Linked DNA regions of Homo sapiens: region 2 is linked to region 1. The links are contacts of gene promoters, found by promoter capture Hi-C in human tissues and cell types (Jung and others, 2019). All regions are on one chromosome and are shown on one strand. Each heading gives the region's core, a stretch centred on a gene start or on the middle of the fragment in contact. The rest is flanking DNA. Distances are from core to core; before and after follow the strand shown.

Region 1 (6,074 bases), core at 2,420-4,919:
AGCATTGCAGGTGGGAGTCACTACCCAGCCACAGCTGTTTTTGTTAAATAATATTAAATTAATCTTATTTATCAAAGAATTGCATAAATATATATCACTTTGCTTTAGGCCTGGTTTATAGCTTCATGACCTTAATAGCACAGGCAAATATAAAACTGACCAGTGCTGGTGCTCAGAAACTGATATGCCAAAACATGGTATTTGACACGCTAAACTAAAGAAGCCTCAAGGTCTCTCTGACTTTTCCTCCAACCCCACCATCCTTCCCAAAGAAGCTGAAGTTCCTTTATCTGCCTAACAACCAGACCCACCAAGGAGAGCAATTGTTGGTTCTCCTCCTCCTGTTATCTCATCTGTTAAAGAAAAGAAGACCAAAATGTAACCACACCCAAGCAGACCTTTATAGAAGTACAATGACTGCCTCCAAGGATTATTTAAATTCCAAAGAAAACTATTTACAAGTTAATATCTGTTGCTCAATCCAATCATTCTCTCACCAATCATTCATTGCCCCTCAATAAATTCCTCTTCTCCTCCCATAATCTGTTTTACCAGAATCCAAGCCCCCCATTCTTTCTGTAATTTCAAGACTAGTGTATAAACTTCTATAACTCATTGAGAAGTTGGGTCTTTATTCTGAAAGCTCCTGTGTATACACATTAAATACATTTGTATGTCTTTTCTCTTACTAATCAATGTGGCCCATGTCAGTGATTTTCCAGCAAATCTTTGGGGGGCTGAGAGCCATAGCCCCCACACCAGTAAACACAGGCAAAAATATATATTGACAATTAGAAAGACGTTTTTAATTTTATTTTATCAACAATTTTAAAACCAATTACTTTTTTAAAGATTAAGTTACATGAACTAAAAAAATTAGGTTAATTACTATGTTTTTGTGTGAGTGCCCATCTATTTAAACCAATCAGATTAACATTTCTTAAGGGATTTTTGGCCTACCACACTGAATTTTATTATGTAGACATAACATACAACATAATACATGTACATATGTGTAAATATATTTAAACAAATATACACATAAAGGTCTTCTAGCTTTTATTTTAGAATTTTAGTTGTGAGATAGTAAAACATATAAACTTGCTGGTTTATAGAGAACAGTTGGATCCAAATTATTTTTCTGGTAAAATGAGATAAAGGCTATGAATCAAATTTTGGTAAAACAGTTTGAGTTAATTACCAGTGCAGGGACCAAAGGGAAACTTCAGTGAAGGCTCACTGAAAAATCAACCTGCAAAAGGCAGATTAATTGGAGAAAAAGCATACAAATGTATTTAATATGTATACATGGGAGCCTGCAGAATGATGACCCAAGCATATAGAGGAAATTGTCTATTTTTAACTTAGGATTAATAAAATATAGACAGCAATGTAGAAATATGATTGGACAGAAAGAGTATGAGCTAATGCCAATAAAATGAGTGGGGAAACCCAGTGAAAAAAGCCAAACTCTGTAAAATATTTAGAGGTTTATTCTGAGCCAAATATGAGTGACCACGGCCTGTGACACAGCATCAGGAGGTCCTGAGAACATGTGTCCAAGGTGTTTGGACTATAGTTTTCTTTTATACATTTTAGGAAGACAGAAGATACAGGCAAAAACATCAGTCAATATATGTAAGGTATACATTGGTTTGACCTGGAAAGCCGGTACATTTTGGAGGAGGAGGGGTTTGGCCAGTGGTGGCAGGAGGGAGGTTGTGGAAGCCAGGGTTCTTGTTACATATGTGAAGCCTGTAATATGCTTCAGAAAGAATAGATGGCATATGTACCTCAAAAGGTAAATGACCTTAAACGGTGTCAGACTCTTAGTTAAATCTCTCCCGGATCAGAGAAAGACCTGGAAAGGGAAGGAGATTGTCCACAGAACACAAATTTCCCTCGCAAAAGATAGCTTTGCACAGGACCATTCCAAAATATGTCAGAAATATATTTTGGGGTAAAATACTTTGATCGCCCTTAGGGCTGCTACCTGTCATGTGATGCTATACCAGAATCAGGTTGGAATTTGTTTTGAGACAGGTTCTCACTTTGTTGCTCAGATTGGAGTACAGTGGCTGTGATCACGGCTCACTGCAGCCTCGATCTCCTTGATGTGGGAGGCTCAAGTGATCCTCCCACATCAGCCTCCCAAATAGCTGGGACTACAGGCGGCCACCACCACACTGGGCTAAATTTTTTTAAAGTAGAGACAAGTTCTCCCCATGTTGCCCAGGCTGGTCTCTAACTCCTGGCCTCAACCTCCTTATTCTCTAGGATTACAGGCGCCAGGCTAGACCTCACAGGTCTTTAGACTTCTACGCACCAGGTACCTGGTAGGGGGAGGGATTATAGTGGCAGAAGAGCAGTACCAGTGGCCCACACCACACACCCTGGCCTCAGCTGGCTGGGGCACACAAAACCAGGTGCTACCGTCAACGACTAGGCCCATAGGGTACTGCTGTCAAAACCTGCTGCCAACAACTTCCACACACTCCCCAAAACGCTCGGTAGGCGGTGGTGCGCAGCTTTCAATGCATCCGCCGCCAGGCGCTCACAGGCAAGGGAGAAAGAAGCCAGACGGAGCTCGGAGATGTGGAGGGCAGACGCAGGCGCATTTGGAAAAGGGACTGGCGGTGGGAGGCGCAGAGGGAAAAAGGAACGACACAATCGGGCTTCCTAGCCGCTGGCGGACCCGATGGGGCGTCCTGCGAGGGTTCGGCGAGGGTTCTGCCAGGATAGTAGCATTGCGCCCAAGGAGTGAGAGGCACCCGGGGCTACTGGAGCCAGACCCTCAACCCGCCCTAGTGGGAGGCGAAGAACAACGAAAGCCTCGTATTCCCATTTCTCTAATGGCTAATGACATTAAAGGTTTTCATATGGTTATTTGCCATCTGCATATCTTCAGTGAAGTGTCTGTTTATGTCTTCTGACTATTTTCTAATTGGATTTTTAAAAATAATTGATTTTTGAGTTATTTACATATTCTAGATACTGGTTGTATGCCAGATATATGGCTTGTAAATATTTTCTCCTAGGTAAACCTTTTCAGTATCGTTACAGGGTCTTTCACAAAGCAAAAGTTTTAAATTTATGGAGTCTAATTCATCAACATTTCTTTTTACCGGTCTTGCCACTAATGTCAATTTAAGAACCTTTTGCCTAGCCTTAGACAATAGTTTGTTGTTTTTTAAAACCGTTTTGTAATTTTACTCGTCACAGTTATATCTAGCCACTTAATTTTTATGTAAGGGTTATTTTTGGCGGGGGGGAATCTATAGATGTCCTGTCTTTTCAGTATCATTTGTGGAAAAGATTATCTGTCCTGCATTAAACTGCTTTTGGACTTTCGTCTAAAATCAGTTGGACCGGTTTTTGTTGGCAAAGTTTTGCCTGAAGCTTATTCCAACAGGTGAGAAAAAGTCCACAGTTTAACAGTTCCTCCCCAACCTGTAACCCCGCCTTGAACTTCTGGACTAGCCCCTCGATTGTTGTAGATGCCAAGCGGACCTCGCGCCGCTCTGCGTTGGGCCAGCCCCTCACAGCTGGTTTCTTACCACGTATTGCGCAAGCGGAATCTATGCCTGTTACCCACACTCCCTGCGCCCCCGCACCCCGCTCCTGTGCGCAAGTCGGAATATAAAACCGCGGAGGAGTGAGCTCTTGGGGTGTCCAGTTGGTTGCCGCGGCAGTCTCTCCGAGCAGCGCATTTGTCTTCTAGGCTGCTTGGTTCGTGCCTCCGAGAAAGGTAAGTCTTTCTTTCGCTTTTTTAGGGGTACTTGAAAACAACAAGTGTCAGACAAAGCAGCAGATGCTGTTGCGCAGTAGAAGTTTATGGGCGAGTTGTCCCTGAAACTGGAACCAGGTCTTTCTTGGCGCGATTACGCAAGAACCACCCGCAGCCCTGCGGGCTCCTGGCAGGTCCTGCAACTGCACTTTGGATAGTCCCGTTGGGAAGCTAGCACTTTTTAATATAGAAGAACGAGGTTTGATAAGTGTGCGAGCTTAAAGGTTGACACAGTGTCCACTATTACAGCTGCGTAGGTAGCTAGTGTTCAGGAAGTAATAGTGGAGTCATGTAGTGTGAAAGTAAGATTGAAATGGGCGAGGAGGGTAGCAGCCGCCACAGCCACCAGAGAGAAACCTGACCTTGCAGGTGCGTGGTGATGTCCATGAGCCAGGCTGGTGCCGCAACAGCAGCGGCGGGACCTTGAGCTCCGCACGGCCGCTGGGTTTGGACGCCCTCTGGTTCCTGGAAACTTTCACCTCCCCCTCAGCCTGAGGCCAGGTGGCCTGGGAAGGTGGAAGGAGTGTGGAGGGGAGTGGGGGGGGGGGTCCACTGCCTGAGAATGAGAATTCTCTTCACATCTGGAAACTTCAGTTATCACGTGTGTCCTTTACCAATTTTTTTTCTTTTATTTTCTTTTTGATAGAGACGGCGGTCTCCCTATGTTACCCAGGCTAGTCTTGAACTCCTGTGCTTAAGCGATCCTCCCACCTTGACTTCCCAAAGTGCTGGAATTACAGGCATGAGCCAATGCGCCCGGCTGCTTTACCAATTTTCTATGAATGAATTTGTACATACATCCCCTAGAGCAGGAAGTAATGTAAAACAGAATAATTAGTAATGCACATTTCCTAATGTGGGATGTTGGTGGCCAAGAGATATTTGGTCTTTACTGGAACTCTTGATACTAACATGGAGTTTATAATAGTTGTGGAGAGTGCAGACAAGGCTAGGATTTCTGTGACTAGAGAACTCTTAGTGCGTGAAGACCTAAGGAAAGCTGGATTGTTGATTTTTGTTAATAAATAAGATGTGAAAGATTGCATCACTGTAGCAGAAATCTCCTAGTTTTTTAAGCTAAATTCTATTAAAGGTCATCATTGCTAAAGGAATTGTGCCCAGGATTTGGATAGCTGATGTCATTACTTAATATTAGATGATATCAACTAACCACATCTCATAGACTGGAATAAAGTGCTAGATTTTACCTGAAAGCTGCAAAAATGAATGGTTTAGATATATGTATGTATTTATTTTATATCAATTTCAAATATTTACTGTATTAACCTCCCTGGCCCCCTTTAATCAAGAATATAAAATCATCTACTTAAATTTTGCCACTTAAGTTTAGAACACTCTTAGAATCACACTATCTTAAAGAAGCCAGACTAGAATTAGAAGCAAGTTAAGTCTGAAGATATAACAACCAGCAACAACATTTTTTTTTTTCAAATGAAAACTCTAATATGGGGTGGGTATGTTGTGTCACACCTGTAATCCCAACACTTTGGGAGGCTGATGCAGGAGGATCACTTGAACACAGGAGTTCAAGACCAGCCTGGACAACATAGCAAAACCCTGTCCCTACAAAAAATAAGAAAATTAGCTGGGCATGGTGTCACATGCCTGTAGTCCCAGCTACTCGGGAGGCTGAGGTGAGAGGATTGATTGATCCCAGGAGGTTGAGGCTGCAGTGAGTCATGATCGCATGACTGCACTCCAACCTGAGGGACAGAGCAAGACCCTGACTCAAAAAAAAAAAACAAAAAAAAAAAAACCACCACCAAAACTCTAATATGGACATATTACTCTCTCATGGGACTTGCACATTCTAAAAAGGGTCCTTTTCCCCAGTACTGGGAGAGTATGTGTTCAACTACGCAGCCAGCAAGACAGGCTAGTTTATATAGGGAGTGTGCTATTCACAAAAAGCCTCTCTTCTCTTTCTGGTATTGTACATGACACAATCATAGCTGTACCTGAAGAGAAGTGCATTTTAAGGACCATCATCACCTAGAAACATGTATAAATTTCTATACCTAGTGCCACAGGAATGACATTGCCTTGTACTATTCCTACCTCTGTCCAGAGGCCAGCTATGTGGTCTGTCTGCATGGTGCCTAGAACTTTTTCCATCTGACCTAGGATGCTTCTGAAGCAGTCCCCCTGGGCAGCTGTCTGGTATTTAGGATATACCTGTGAGAAAAGTTTCTTACAAACCTAATCTACTATGTTTATTCCTGAACTCAAAAAGTTCATTGACTGTTCAAATCCTGAAATTTTCTCT
Region 2 (6,074 bases), core at 2,576-5,075, 300 kb before region 1:
GAAAGGGAAAATCTGACCATCCTTCTCTCCTTCCCTTTCAAACTGATAGTGCCATATTAATATAACTCCAAAAAAAGGGAGCTGAGTCCTAAAGGCCACAAGCCTAAGGATGAACTTGAAACAGGGCCATGGACAGGGAACAGTAAGTCACTTGTGTTCAACAGCACCGATTTTTGTTCTTTCTCCCTGCTGATATAACCCAGCTGGAGTAAGCTAGAAAACTAATAAATCCCCTTCCCTCCTCTTCAGAAGTGGCCAAATATCTGCCTCTAAAAAAAGTCAGAGAACCCCACCCTGTATCTTCTGGGTGTGGACATTCCTCTGCAGAAATAATCACGCTACAGAACAGAAGTCAGCAAGCCTTTTCCATAAAGGATCAGATAGTAAAGGTTTTAGACTTATAGGCCCTATGATCTGTATTGCAACTACTGAACTCTGCCATTATAGTGCAAAAGCAGCCACAGACAAAGAAAAAATAAATAATCATAGCTATGTCCCAACAAAACTTTACTTACGAAAATAGGTGGTAGGCTGCAGTTTGCTAACCCCTGCTGTAAAAGATTACCTAGGAGTACAAATGCTGGCAGCATTCGAGAACAGGAACTGTTCTAAAATAATATTTTAATAATCACTCATTTTAAAACACACTGTTATAATAATTGAGAGAAAATGTGCTATAGTATTCGAACATAGTGATAGTGTAAAGGTCTGGGAAATCTGACCCAGTGAAGCCACAGCCGCCCAATTCATACAACATCCACATGGTGATGCAGATCATACAGACAGAGTGAAATGACTCTGTCCAGGGGCACTACGTGGGATGAAAATGTCATTATTTTCACATAGTGAAAGTCATTTACTCCTGAACTAGAGATGCCCCAAAGCACAGACTGAGGAGAAATTCAAGAAGAAAGCATAGCATTAGAAAGCAGATGGCGTTGAAGGAAGTTTACCAAAGGACCCTTCCCTTTTAATTCTGTGCCTGTGGATTCTCCAGTAAGTTAGAATCCCATCATTTTAAAAATTATAAATACAATATATTACTTTCTTTTGCCATTTTGAACAGAATAAGTACTTGATAAATTCTCACTTTTGCTGGGAGAATTAGGAAATATATAAGATTTTTACATAATAAAATTTGTTTCTGGCTTTGGCTAAATTTTTCATCAATGTAAAATAATAGCTAATATTACTGATTGTTTACTGTGTCCAGGCACTCTTCTAAACACTCTACATATGTTATCTTACTAAAGCCTTGTAACTTAACAAGGTGGGCAACTAGACAGATTTGCAAGGTATGTGTTTGACCAGTGACAGCCACTGAAAATGTTAATTTGCTTTCCTCACTACCCCCCTACTCCAAAATGTCCTAGATCAAGTTCAATGAAGAACTTGCCAGAGTGGGACCAAAGGAAAAAATCAGAGTAAACTAAGAACAGTTCGTCTTCCCTACCTCCATTCTCTTGCTAGGAGAAAGGTAAAATTAAGATGAGCTAAAGAACAGGAAGAGATCTTTTGGGGTCAGATTCAAGTTCCTGGATGTGAAGAGCATGTTGCATGAACCCTGACTCCTGGTTTGGGGGAATCCATTAGACAGCCATACTACAGTGGTACAGTGGCACCACAGGAACAGGAGACTGGCATCTTGCTTACCAGCTTCTGGTCTGCTTAGTCTCAGGGTTTCCTAACAAAACTTAGGGAAAAGCATTTTGGAAGGAAGGGATGGGTATTGGCAGAAGAGGGCAAGGCTTAGCCGCAAAGCTACTCTCGCCACATACACACCATGTCTCCTGAGAGGTATAAACAATTGGATCACAATAGGGACATCAAAAGATGGGTAGGGATGGAAGGGAAGGCTTGTGCCAAATCGACCGCATGCATCAGAGGCACATGCATGGGAGTTGTAAGTAAGATGGCTTCAGATGGAAGATGCATCGTAAAACTTCACAGAAACCGCAGATGCCTAGACAGTGGCTCAGGGCCATGTTCATCACCATCCAAATCTATAGGTCCCCCACATCAGGAGATATTGATGAAATTGATGGATGGTGATGATCAGCTTTGGAATGTGCAGCAAACTAGCCATCACCAACATACAGGTAGCCAAAAGAAACCTGCTTCCCTAACACCAAATCTACTTTCCTCCCTCCAGATACAGTGAAAGGAGAGAGGAAAACATTCCACATCCTTTTCTTCCATAAGTAGCTCCCAAGTGAATGTGTGTGTCAGTTCAGATCCTCCTGGAAGCAGATACCAAGGCAGAATTAGATCTGCAAATGATGAATTGGGGTAAATGACTATGAATAATAAAGGAAAAGGAACAGGAGTAGGAGGGAAGGGGCTTCAGACCATGATGCTCATCTGCGACCTATGAAAAGAAAGAGGAAGGGAAGAAAAGTGGTAAGGCAAAGCTCCAGACTGTGATGCAGATCTGAGAGTCTTGACCAGGTCAACAAGGCACCCCAGAGCAAAGTTATCCCATTAGAGGAATCCCATTTTGGACAAGAATGGCTAAGCTCTAGTACCCCTGCCATGCTCAGTTACTGTCTGAGAGCAGCCCAGAGACCATATAGCCTCATCACGCTCACTTCAATGGACCCCAAACCTGCAGCATCTAGAGGCTGTCAACTGACTCTTCTCTTTGCAGAGTGTTCCCACTTCAAGGAAAATAACAGCAGCATACACCAATAGCTGCCACAGGATCTGTTCAGTTTATCCTGGGATGGCTGTATAGGCTTCAAACTTTGACATTAGAGTGAAATTATAAGGATTTTTCTCCAAGCCAGGGTTAATAATAAGATCAGTCACAACCTATTCCCATTCAGCAAGTTATAGAAAATAATAGAATGCCTGGTTCATCTGTTCTACGTCAATCGATTTTCACATTCACGTCCTCCTGCCTCTTTCGCATTCCTACCATTCAACCACGTTTGTCCCATCAACACCCACTCTGGGAATCAAGACCTCTTTCAGACAGACAGCAATGCAGATAAATTATCATTTGGACATTGCTTTTCGTAGTTGAAAAAATGCTTTGTGAATTCTTTTGACTGGTTTCTGTCTTAACTATCTCATTCATGTTAAAAGAATAAAAATGTAGTCAAGAAACAGATATCACCCCTAGTTTGTGATAGATCCCAAACCAAGCACACAGTGATATGAATTCTGGAATACTGTTATTTGACTTAATCATGGAGGCCAGACGAGGTTTAATCAAAAAAATGGCCCAAAGTTGAGATCTGAAAAGGGGAAGAAAGATCATTCCGGGCAGAAGAATCAACTTATGCAGTGGCCCTCAGTGACTTTAGAGTGTAGACTTTAGTGTCACTGAGATGAAGGAGATGGGTGAGAGTCAAACTTTCTTAGGAGTTTTCATTATTCTAAGAGTAACTTTGGGGTTTTAATAGGAGGACTGGAATAAAGGGACATTATATGGTCAGATTTGTACTTTGAAAAAAATCCCTCTGGATGAAGAATGGAAAACAGATGGGAGAATGGATGAGGAGCTCAGAGAAGGTTAGGTGTAATATTATTTTAGTAGTAGTAGCAGTTCAAGTGAGAGATGTGGCTATCTTGAACTAGAGTGTGGATATGGAATAAAAATTAGATCATTTCAAAATATGATTAAATGACAAAATATCCAAAATTCAGTGGTGAATTAGATATGGAAACTGAAAAATTAAGGTGTCAAGATAACTCCTAAATTTCTAGTTGGCACAACTGGATGGATGATAATTGCAATCACTAAAATAATAAATACCAAGAGAGAATCAAGTTGGAACAAGGCTATAAGTTCAGAATTGAACAGTTTACCAGTTAGGAATCTTTTAGTTGAAAGTGATTAAAAAGCCCAACTCAATCTAGCTTAAACAAAGAAGGGAAGTTATTGGCTAATGTAATTGTAAAATATACAAAAAGGGCTGACTTCAGCAGTGGCCTCATTCTGGAATAAAATGATGCCTCCAGGAGCCATTCCTTAGTTCTGTGTCCAGAGTTGGTTCCTGTTGGTGGGTTCATGGTCTCACTGACTTCAAGAATGAAGTTGCGGACCTTCACGGTGAGTGTTACAGCTCTTAAAGATGACACAGACCCAAAGAGTGAGCAGCAGCAAGATTTATTGTGAAGAGCGAAAGAACAAAGCTTCTACAGCATGGAAGGGGACCCGAACAGGTTGTTGCTGCTGGCTGGGGTGACCAGCTTTTATTCCCTTATTGGCCCCGCCCATGTTCCATTTCTGTCCTATCAGAGTGCCCTTTTTTCAATACTCCCTGCATTTGGCTACTTTTAGGATCTTGCTGATCGGTGCATTTTACAGAGTGTTGATTGGTGCATTTTACAGAGTGCTGATTGTTGCATTTTACAATCCTCTTGCTAGCTACAGAGCACGGATTGGTGCATTTTACAATCCTCTTGCTAGCTACAGAACACTGTTTGGTATGTTTTTACAGAGCGCTGATTGATGCATTTTACAATCCCCTTGCGAGCTACAGAGTGCTGATTGGTGCATTTTACAATTCTAGCTACAGAGTGCTGATTGGTGCGTTTTACAATCCTCTTGTAAGACAGGAATGTTCTCCAAGTTACCAACCCAAATGTCCATCAATGATACACTGGATTAACAAAATGTAGCACATATACACCATGGAATACTATGCAGCCATAAAAAAGGATGAGTTCATGTCCTTTGTAGGGACATGGATGTAGCTGGAAATCATCATTCTGAGCAAACTATCACAAGGACAAAACTAAACACCGCATGTTCTCACTCATAGGTGGGAATTGAACAATGAGAACACTTGGACACAGGGTGGGGAACATCACACACCGGGGCCTGTTGTGGGGTGGGGGGAGGGGGAAGGGATAGCATTAGGAGATATACCTAATGTAAATGACGAGTTAATAGGTGCAGCACACCAACATGGCACATGTATACATATGTAACAAATCTGCACATTGTGCACATGTACTCTAGAACTTAAAGTATAATAATAATAATTTTTTTAAAAGTTCTCCAAGTCCCCACTTGGCCCAGGAAGTCCAGCTGGCTTCACTTCTCAGTTCTACTTCCTCTATGTTGGTTGCATTCTCAGACTTTGCAAGGTGGCTTCCGGTGGCAGCAGGCTCACATCATCACAAGAACTAGTTCAGTGAAAGAGGAAAGTCTCTTCTCAAAATGTCAAACAAAAAAATGCAAAACCAAATATCCTCAGCATTTATAGTCTCAATTTGGGTATATGCTCAATCCTGAACTATTCACTGTGGTGATGAAATATGCTAATTATACCCCGGACCCTGAACTTAAGGCATTTTCAAAAAGAAGTTTATGGATGAGGGCTGGGCGCAGTGGCTCACACCTGTAATCCCAGCACTTTGGGAGGTTAAGGCAGGCGGATCACGAGGTCAGGAGTTCGAGACCAGCCTGGCCAACATGGTGAAATCCCGTCTCTACTAAAAATATATATATACAAAAATTAGCCGGGCGCAGTGGCAGGCACCTGTAATCCCAGTTACTCGGGAGGCTGAGGCAGGAGAAGTGCTTGAGCCCGAGAGCAGGAGGTTGCAGTGAGCCGAGACCACACCATTGCACTCCAGCCTGGGTGACAGAGCGAGACCCTGTCTAAAAAAAAAAAAAAAAAAAAAAAAAAAAAAAAAAAAAGAAAAAGAAAAAAAAAAGTTTATGGATGAAAGTGGAGGAGGATTACATATCCCAACAAAGAATCAGCTACCATTGCCACAAAAAGGATAAATGGATATTGGGCAGCAAAAACAACATAAAATTATCTCTTACAGCTGAACACAATTTCTGAGATTAACAACAGGCTCAATGTGGTGGACATTTAAGAAGATGAAATCCTCATTGATAAAGATGGGGTACTTGAAATGAGCTCCGAGCACTGGCAGAGGTCAAGACTATGGGCTACCAGTAACAACCTGCTTGACACAAAAACACAGACTGCATGGGGCAAAAGCAACATCAGACACATTCAAGAAAATCTGTTTTCTCATGAAGGTTCTCTGGAAAGTCCAACAGATGAATTGCTATAAAACAATCAGAATTGATTTTTTTTTTTTAC

Evidence for each region. The method cuts DNA at HindIII sites, captures the fragments that hold promoters and counts their contacts. A contact is called where the count stands out against the background at its distance.
Region 2: a fragment that was not itself captured here is called in contact with the fragment with the promoter of DIRAS3 in region 1 in 2 of the 25 tissues and cell types used here (H1 embryonic stem cells and mesendoderm cells).

Annotation. Positions count from the first base shown.
Region 1 is chr1:68,048,222-68,054,295 of GRCh38, reverse strand. DIRAS3 (DIRAS family GTPase 3) reads left to right here and starts at 3,669. Exons shown (of 2, transcript NM_004675.5): 1 at 3,669-3,748. The region is part of intron 2 of GNG12-AS1 (GNG12, DIRAS3 and WLS antisense RNA 1); the gene reads right to left. It also overlaps the pseudogene ARL5AP3. The HindIII fragment of the contact is 12,521 bases long and covers 1-5,762 here.
Region 2 is chr1:68,346,624-68,352,697 of GRCh38, reverse strand. No RefSeq gene overlaps it. Among named protein-coding and RNA genes, the nearest start is that of RPE65, 100 kb to the left of the region's middle. The HindIII fragment of the contact is 6,161 bases long and covers 745-6,074 here.